Regions from separate parts of the Homo sapiens genome. Here region 2 is linked to region 1. Evidence: promoter capture Hi-C in 16 types of primary human blood cells and fetal thymus (Javierre and others, 2016). All regions are on one chromosome and are shown on one strand. The core of a region is centred on a gene start or on the middle of the fragment in contact, and the rest is flanking DNA. Distances in the headings are between cores, read along the strand shown.

Region 1 (4,420 bases), core at 1-2,500:
TAGAAATCCTTCCATAAAAATACTTTTTAAAAAGTCACTTTGCCTGCCTTTTTTTTTGTTTTCAAACGAATCCAGTCATATCTGTAAAACAAGTTTCCATCAGATCTCATTTTATAAGCAACATCCTCTTCTAAGCCACCTGAAACTGACTTTGAAGAGCTCTTCAAACCATTTCAAAAATTTGTTTGTTGGCTTGTGCTTTCTTGGGTTAATGCTTCTAGAGTCGTCTCCAAGTTTCAAATTTTGCATGGCTGCTTTTTTTTTTTTTTTTTTTTTTTTACTTCGCTTCAAGAGTCAGTCTTAAATCATGTAGGTTTTGCTTGAGGTTTGCTCGAGCAAGAGGACCTTAGGTTTGGTCTTATTTGCATTTTTACCATAACTAGGCCTACATTCTAAATAAGTAACTAAATGCCACCTATGAGTTTCATTAACTGTGGCTGCTTGCCACTTTTTAGTTCTGGTTAGGGTGGTGCTATTGTTTTCCTCAGGTTCATTAGAAACATCTTCCGTGACAGCTCTGACGCGGCACCGATTTCTGAGTGTCCAGTGTTTTCCCTACCATTATTTTCTTTGGTCTGAAGTTGACACTTAAACTGTCCAGTTTTAAACCTCCGATCCGTGTTCCCAAATGAAAACATGACTTTCATTACGAATTACACGTCAAGGGAGCAAACCAAGGCGCTCGGGGCGGCGAGAACCGCGACACAGCGCTTCGCCTGGACTGGTAAACAAACCGCCGCGCAGGCGCAATGGCAACAGGACGGTAACCTGGGTAGCCGCCAATGGGCTTTTTCGTAGAGTGAAAAGCGGAAAAGCCAAACAAAACGCTGGTTCCAAGGTGATAAACTGGCTGACTTCCTCTATTTTTACTTTTTTAAAAAATTTTGTTTCTGAAGAAGTAGTTGTGCGGCCTTCTGGGCCTCGCAGAGATCTTCTTCGTGGAATTCCTCGGCCCCAGAGAAATGCCGCTAGCCTGTCGGCTAGTTATATTAGCCTAATTTTTTGTCTTGATCTTTTTCATTTGACTGCAGCACTAATCCTAATCCACTGGGGCAGCAAAAAAAAAAAAAAAAAAAAAAAAAAAAAAAAAAAAGGGCGGGTGGGATCTCAACGCCACGGAAAACCTTCATACTAGCCGGCCATCACCAAACCACGCGAGATCTGCCTGAGGAGAAGCGCCACCCCGGGAGTGCACGTTTGCGCATGCGTCTGGCTCATCATTTTTAGCGCGCAAAAGTTTCAAAACTTTCCGCCTAGTGAGAGGCGGTCCGATTTGGCCCTTGGGGAGTGTCCGTCGCGTTGATCTGATGGATTCACGTACACAACACCACATTCTATGAGATTTTGCAGGCAAAAGTCCACAAGCTCGTATGGTCATCCCTTCTTTCCGTTTTTATATTGGCCGTGAACTCTGTGAGGGGAGGTTTCAGCGACTGAAGTAGTAAAGGAGTGGGAGCGGGAGAGCCGATTAATGAGGTTGTAGAATAAGAGAGAAATCTGAAGGGACAAAGGAGTTTTATTTATTTTTTGGCTGGTGACCAAGAGGATGTGAGTGTGAGCTAAGGTAATACAGTGGGAAGGAGAAGATGGGAAGATTTGAGAGATAAATGAAGGCAGTAGCTCTGTAGCCTACCTGGGAGGCCAGACTAGAAAGAAGTTGACAGTAGAGGACATTTTTCTTAAAAGAGTGTGAACTTATGCATGTTTGTAAACAGGCAGAAATGGCATGCATTTAGTACATGGTGTATATAAGGTGGAAATCGGGACGCCCCTAATGGAATGGAATGAGGAAGATTCTAAAAGCCACAGTCCTGAACACAGGCCGAGGTGGAATTGCGAAGAACAGTCGCGGTAACAGAAGTCAGGAATTTGGGAACTGTCTCGAGGGATCTGACCAATCTGACCTCTTTTTGTCTCTCAGGATATATGGGACACCTGCACCGGCATTGGATTTGGCCCCGCAACATCTTAAAGGTACCACCCAACACCTGAAGTGTCTGCCTCCTTCCGATGGAGCCTCCTGGCCCCTCCCACCTCTCACCAGCTTTACCCTTTAGCCAGAATGAAATGTGGATTTCATGGAATGAAATGGTGGCATTTAGCTACCACATTACTCAGATGTGTCACTGACACCTTACAGAAGTACATACTTCTAGCCTCTAGCCTCCCAGTTCACTAGATATTAGAGTCCATCTTGATATCGGCAGCAATTCTATGCCACTTAGCTACTATAATTTGATTCTTTGTATACTATCTGGAGTACAAGGCAGAAGAATGCTGATGGAATACGTAATTTTACTCCAACAAAGGAATGGCTGATAGGTAAAGAGTATCACTTCATCTGTAAGAAAAACTAAATATGGAAAGCCACAGGATTGAAGCTAGCAGTGATGGAGAAGGATCCCAGTGTGAATATATAGAATGGAAGTACTTCAGTAAAGAGCCAGGCATGGTAATCACTTACCAAGAAAGTGACTTCATTTCATTTTGGCAGCCTAAAGTATATCCTGGCAGCTGCGCTGTATGTGTGAAGTGCATAGGAAAATGCTGCAGGAAAAATCCATGGAGGCAATGGAATAGGATTTCAGGGTTGAAGCCTGGGTGTCTTGTTTTAGGGAGTGGGATCATCCAGCTCTGAGAGGCATGACATCTCGATATGATGTCATATAAAGTGTGTACAATTGGGAATCAGACCTGGGCTTTGACTTTAGGGTCTGCCAGTCACTCTGTGTGTCCTGTCTGAATCTCAGTTTCTCAATTTATAAAATAAGGATAATAGTGCCTGTGCCATAGGATTATTGTAATGACAAAATGAGGTAGCATAGAACTTAGTGTAAAGTACATGCCACCTATCAGTTGAATTGTGGATGCTCTGTGCATCGTAGGTCCGTCTGTATTTAGGGAGCTTTAAGACAGGTACTCTACCGGGTCAGGCGCGGTAGCTCACGCCTGTAATCTCAGCACTTTGGGAGGCTGAGGCGGTCGGATCACAACGTCAGGAGATCGAGACCATCCTGGCAAATACGGTGAAACCCCGTCTCTACTAAAAAAAAAAAAATACAAAAAATTAGCCGGGCGTGGTGGTGGGCACCTGTAGACCCAGCTACTCCAGAGGCTGAGGCAGGAGAATGGCGTGAACCCGGGAGGCAGAGCTTGCAGTGAACCGAGATCACGCCACTGCACTCCAGCCTGGGCGACAGAGCGAGACTCCGTCTCAAAAAAAAAAAAAAAAAAAAAAAAAAAAGACAGGTACTCTACCATGCCCACACATTAGAATCACCTTGGGAGCTTAAAAAAATCCTAATGCCCTGGCTTTTCTCTATACCAATTAAATCAGAATCTCTGCGAGTGGAGCCCAGACATCAGTACTTTCTTAAAACCCTCCATTTTGCAACAAAGGTTGAGAGCCACTGCTTTAAGAGTTCCCTCTAGGGCCAGGCACGGTGGCTCACGTCTGTAATCCCAGCACTTTGGGAGGCGGAGGCGGGGGGATCACGAGGTCAGGAGCTTGAGACCAGCCTGGCCAACATGGTGAAACCCCATCTCTACTAAAAATACAAAAATTAGCTGGGTGTGGTGGCACGCGCTTGTAATCCCAACTACTCCGGAGGCTGAGGCAGGAGAATTGCTTAAACCCAGGAGGCAGAGGTTGCGGTCAGCCGAGATCGTGCCACTGCACTCCAGCCTAGGTGATAGAGCAAGACTCCGTTTTGGAAAACACGTTTGGAGGAATGAAGTTTAGAGCTTGAGACAGGCAGATAAGTAGGGCATCATGAGCTCTATTCAGGAGGAAGGCCACTGTGATAAGAATGGGGTTAACGTACTAATTTGGGAAAGGTCATTGATAAAGCCATTAGTATAATTGCCAGGATACACAGGCTTAGCTGTAGAGATAGAAGAGTGTCAGTCTCCCAAGCTGGTCTTTTGATCTAGCACAGGCAACACAGATAATGATGTCTTTATTGCATTACACATGGTGAATCTTGGGCCATCAGCAGGGCTGATGGCAGTAGTGGGTTGGGGCGGATCTTTACAACCTGCAATACCTCATTGGTTGGGGAGGGCATCAAGGCATGATTGAAATGTGTGTTCTTTTCCAATGAGAGGCTGCTGTACATGGGAATGCATGTGCAGCAGGGCATTGATAATGAAGTGTTTTCCGGTAGCCTATCAGGGTTGATGTGGCAGCTCTGACCACACAAGTGGTTTTGTTATTATTAACAGATGAGAAAGGTGAGGTTCAAGCCTGTCTTTGTAGCCTTTCAGGGAACACAGAATCACTTGGAATACAAGTGGCATGGTCAGCAATTTCAGCTTCTAAGAGACAAGTTACTTGCTAGTAGGACAATTCTGGTTTCTAGGTTTATAAATAACTCAGAAGTTGAAATCACCATACTACTTTAGTTATTGAATATAAGAC
Region 2 (4,132 bases), core at 925-3,424, 1.1 Mb after region 1:
AGACCCCAGATACTCCCCACATGTGCTCCATCCAGTAGATTAATGCCTCTCACAATGAAGTTATGATGTCTCATGTGGTCTTGAGGATAAAAGAAGATCTTGAGAAAGGGGAATGGGGAAGCCTAGAGGTAGGGGATAATAAGAAATTAGGGGAAAGGCTGGGCGCGGTGGCTCATACCTGTAATGCCAGCACTTTTGGAGCCCGAGGTGAGCAGATCACTTGAGGTCAGGAGTTTGAGACCAGCTTGGCCAACATGGTGAAACTCAGTTTCTACTAAAAATACAAAAAGTAGCCGGGCGTGGTAGCACACGCCTGTAGTCCCAGCTACTCTGGAGGCTGAGGTGGGAGAATCGCTTGAACCTAGGAGGTGGAGGTTGCAGTGAGCTGAGATCAGCCACTGCATACTCCAGCCTGGGCTACAGAGTGAGACTCTTTCTCGAAAAAAAAAGAAAGAAAGAAAAAGAAATTAGGGTAAAGACAAGAAGATAAGAAGTTCTGGGCATGTGAATGTGCATGGTATGGGGAATAGAAAGAGATGTGGGGTGTGGTTTCGGGGTGGGGACAGAAGAGAATGAAGGAATAGAGAAATTTCCAGGTTAACGGGCATTAGTTGAGAAAAGGGGATCAACTCCCACAACCACAACTGAAAGTGGTCCTTGAAAATTAAGACTCAAAACCTAGCAAGATCAGATCTTAATTCTTGAGTTTATTCCACAATGTGGCTTATTTTAAGAAGCTCCCTTTTTCTTCTCATTTTACTCAATTTCATCACTTTAATCAGAGGTGCAGAGTTAAGAGATGAAAAGAGAGAAGTGAAAGTCTGATTATTCAAAATGAGATTCATTTTTATTTATTTTTTAGAGACAGGTTCTCGCTCTGTCACCCAGTCTGGAGTGCAGTGGTTCAATCATGGCTCACTGCAACCTCAACCTCCTGGGCTCAAGTCATCCTAGTCAGCCTCCTGAGTAGCTGGGACTACAGATGTGCACTCCCATGCTTATCTAATTTTTAATTTTTTGTAGTGACAAGGGTCTTGCTATGTTGCCCAGGCTGGTCCCAAACTCCTGGTCTCAAGCAATCCTCTTACCTCAGCCTCCCAAAGTGTTGGAATTACAGGTGTGAGCCACTGCATCTAACCAATATTAATTTTTAAATAAAAATTTTAGAGAGTTTCTTTTGAAACTTACTGCTAAGCTTACGAGATTTTTTTTCCCTTCTCACATCCACTTTTTTTTTCTTTTCACATTTTTATTTTATTGTTTAAAAAATATTGCATGACTAGATCATACCCTTTTTTTCAAGCCAAACAGTCTTGGAGCATACAAACAAAAAATTACTCATTGCTCCACCTCCTTCCAATACCACATACCAAAGAACTGATGTTAACAGTCCCAGCCCTCATCATCACTGTTCTACTGCCCAGGTGGATTCAGGGGTCCTCTGTGAGGGTTACAGTTGCTTGGGTTGTCTGGAAAGGCAGGTAATAGTTCTTTTTGCTACGGAATGCCACACATGCATGCATCTGAGCTTATTATGCCTCTCTGCAAAGGGTTGCCCTTGGGGGAGGAAGTGATAACACTGGGTCCCACTAGCGGTGGAACCCTTAGCACATCCTTCATTAATCCCCACCTTCCTGCCTGCTGGTCAAGCTTTGATCTTCTTCTGAGCAGGACATGGTTCTTAGGACATCACATATTTCTTTCCGTGGTTTTAGTATAAATATTATGTACTTGGCCCTCTGGGGGACTGGCTTTGGATATTTAAAGTCTGACTTTGGGGATTTAAATAACATGTTTCTCTAAGTCTCTGGCTCTAATAATGGAAAGCAATGACTTTTAAGACCTTTTTCTCTGCTATGGACTTTACAGAATTATTCTCAAGAGCTTCAGGTTAAAGATTTAATTGTTCTCTCTGTATCATCTTTGTATCTGTATTTCTAAAACCCTAACACTCCTTGAATGGTGGGGAAAGAAAAGATAAGTAAGAGGAATTAAGAAAAATCACATAGTTGAATATCAAAATATTAACCCACTATAGGAACAAAAATATTCATTGAACAATGAATTATGTGAGGTGATAAAGAAACTTTTATTAACAAGAATTTCATTGGTAGGAGGGACTTGACTAGATGAAAATCTTTTAATCACCTTGAAGTAAAAACTGAAATACTAGGGGCGTGTTACAACAAATTTGGTCTGCAAACAACTGCACCAAAGACAAAGGGAGGAATCTGTCCGGCAAAGGAGGATGGAGGTTAATGAGTAGAGGAGACTGAGGGAGAGAGAAAGCAAGAAAGATGGTGAGATGATGTGCACTGTGAAATGGAAATGTAGTCTATGACAAAGAAAAGTAAATTTCACTGTGAAAGAAAGGTAGGATTTGGAGTTTAGTAGGCAATCTAAGAAGGTAGGAACTGATATAGTTTGGATATTTGTCCCCACCCAAATCTCATATCAAATTGTAATCCCCAATGTTGGAGGTGGGACTGGTGGGAAGTGATAGGATTGTGGAGGTGGATTTCTCACGAATGGTGTAGCACCATCCCTCTTAGTACTGTCCTCACAATAGTGAGTGAGTGAGTTCTCATGAGATCAGATCATTTAAGTGTAAAACCTCCCATCTTACTCTCTCTTGCTCCTGCTCCTGCCATGTGAGACTCCTACTCCCTTTTGCCTTCCACTATGATTGGAAGCTTCCTGAGGCCTCCCCAGAACCAGAAGCTGCTATGCTTCCTGTACAGTCTGCAAACCCATGAGCCAATTAAACCTCTTTTCTTTATAAGTTGCCCTGTCTCAGGTATTTCTTTACAGTAATGTGGGAACAGACTAACACAGGGACATATAGGAGAAAATAGAACTAAGCAACATGGCATTAGTTTGGACATAATTACCTATCAGGCTATTACATTAGCTTGAATGATCCTCACAACAACACTAAGATTTAAGTACTATCATTATTATCCCCATTTTAAAATGTGGAAACAAAGACAAAGGGAAGTGAAGTAACTTAACCCAGTATCAGGGGAAACTCCTCCCTCATAGAGAATGGTGAAGAGTAACAAGAAGGCCAAGGAGATGACTAAGCCAGTAACCAGGTTGGCTTGCTGCCACTTTGGAGGTGTGAAAATAGACAAAGAGACTCAAGCAAGACAGCACAGCACACAGTGGGAACATCAGCATGGTAATTCTGGTTCTCCTGTCCCAAAGTCCCATGGGGTGGTAATGGGCAGCTACTCACACAGTGGGTTGTGCCACATGCGGGGAACCTAGGGTTAAAGGCTCAGCACCTCTTATAGCAAGCAGCAAAGGGGCTAGTCCCCTGCCCAAGGAATAAGCTGTAAGGTAATCATGATGTGGGTACCATGGCCAACTTAACTGTTACATGACTAGCTACAGAAACCTCTTTTAAGGCATCCTTAGAGATTGTCTGCCTTTTCTCATAAGGCAACTTCCATACAGACAGTAAACTGGAATACACTCTAAGGACCACCTTTCACTCTTTGCCTATATTTCATCTCATATTCTTCTACAACACATTGACAAAAAACATTAAAAATATAATAATTCCTAAACTGCATAGTTTGTGAGTCCCCTTTATATACATTATAACATTTAAGTTTTCTTTACAACAGTGGTTTTTATTTGGGGTTTGAGGGTAATTTTACCCCTCACTCCCTGGGGACATTTGGCAATGTCTGGAGACATTTTTGGTTGTCACACTAGAAGTTGGGGGAGTGGTACTGGCATCTAGTGGGCAGAGATCAGAGATGCTATGATGCACAGGGCAGCCCTACATAACAAAGAATTTTACAGCCCCAGATGTCAAGAGTGCTGATAATGAGATTGAGAAATCATGCTTCACAGTTTCCTCATATTATATAAGGAAAACTTAATGAAAACAGGCCCAGAATGGAGGGGAATCAACTAATGATGGAACAAAAGGTCTATCTAGCTATTGTAGTAGCAGTAGAGCATCACTAAGTATTTCAATACTTTGTCAATTATAAGAGAATGTAAGAATGAAGAGGATTTCATCTTTATGGCTGGAACAGTTGTTAGTTGATCTACTATTTGCATAGTTGAAGAGAACCAAGCACATAAAATCTTGTGAGTGGTATAGTTGATCAAAAGC

The links. Contacts are between HindIII fragments. The CHiCAGO score rates a contact against its expected background, and 5 or more counts as called.
Region 2: a contact is called between a fragment that was not itself captured here and the fragment with the promoter of GPR19 in region 1, in 2 of 17 cell types (endothelial precursors and M2 macrophages). The highest score is 5.8, in endothelial precursors.

Annotation. Positions count from the first base shown.
Region 1 is chr12:12,693,013-12,697,432 of GRCh38, reverse strand. It overlaps GPR19 (G protein-coupled receptor 19), which reads left to right and starts at 1,250. Exons shown (of 4, transcript NM_006143.3): 1 at 1,250-1,368; 2 at 1,922-1,974. RefSeq lists enhancers at 1,083-1,162, 1,343-1,502. The HindIII fragment of the contact is 8,608 bases long and covers 1-4,420 here.
Region 2 is chr12:11,575,309-11,579,440 of GRCh38, reverse strand. No RefSeq gene overlaps it. Among named protein-coding and RNA genes, the nearest start is that of LINC01252, 29 kb to the right of the region's middle. RefSeq lists an enhancer at 373-572. The HindIII fragment of the contact is 1,043 bases long and covers 1,653-2,695 here.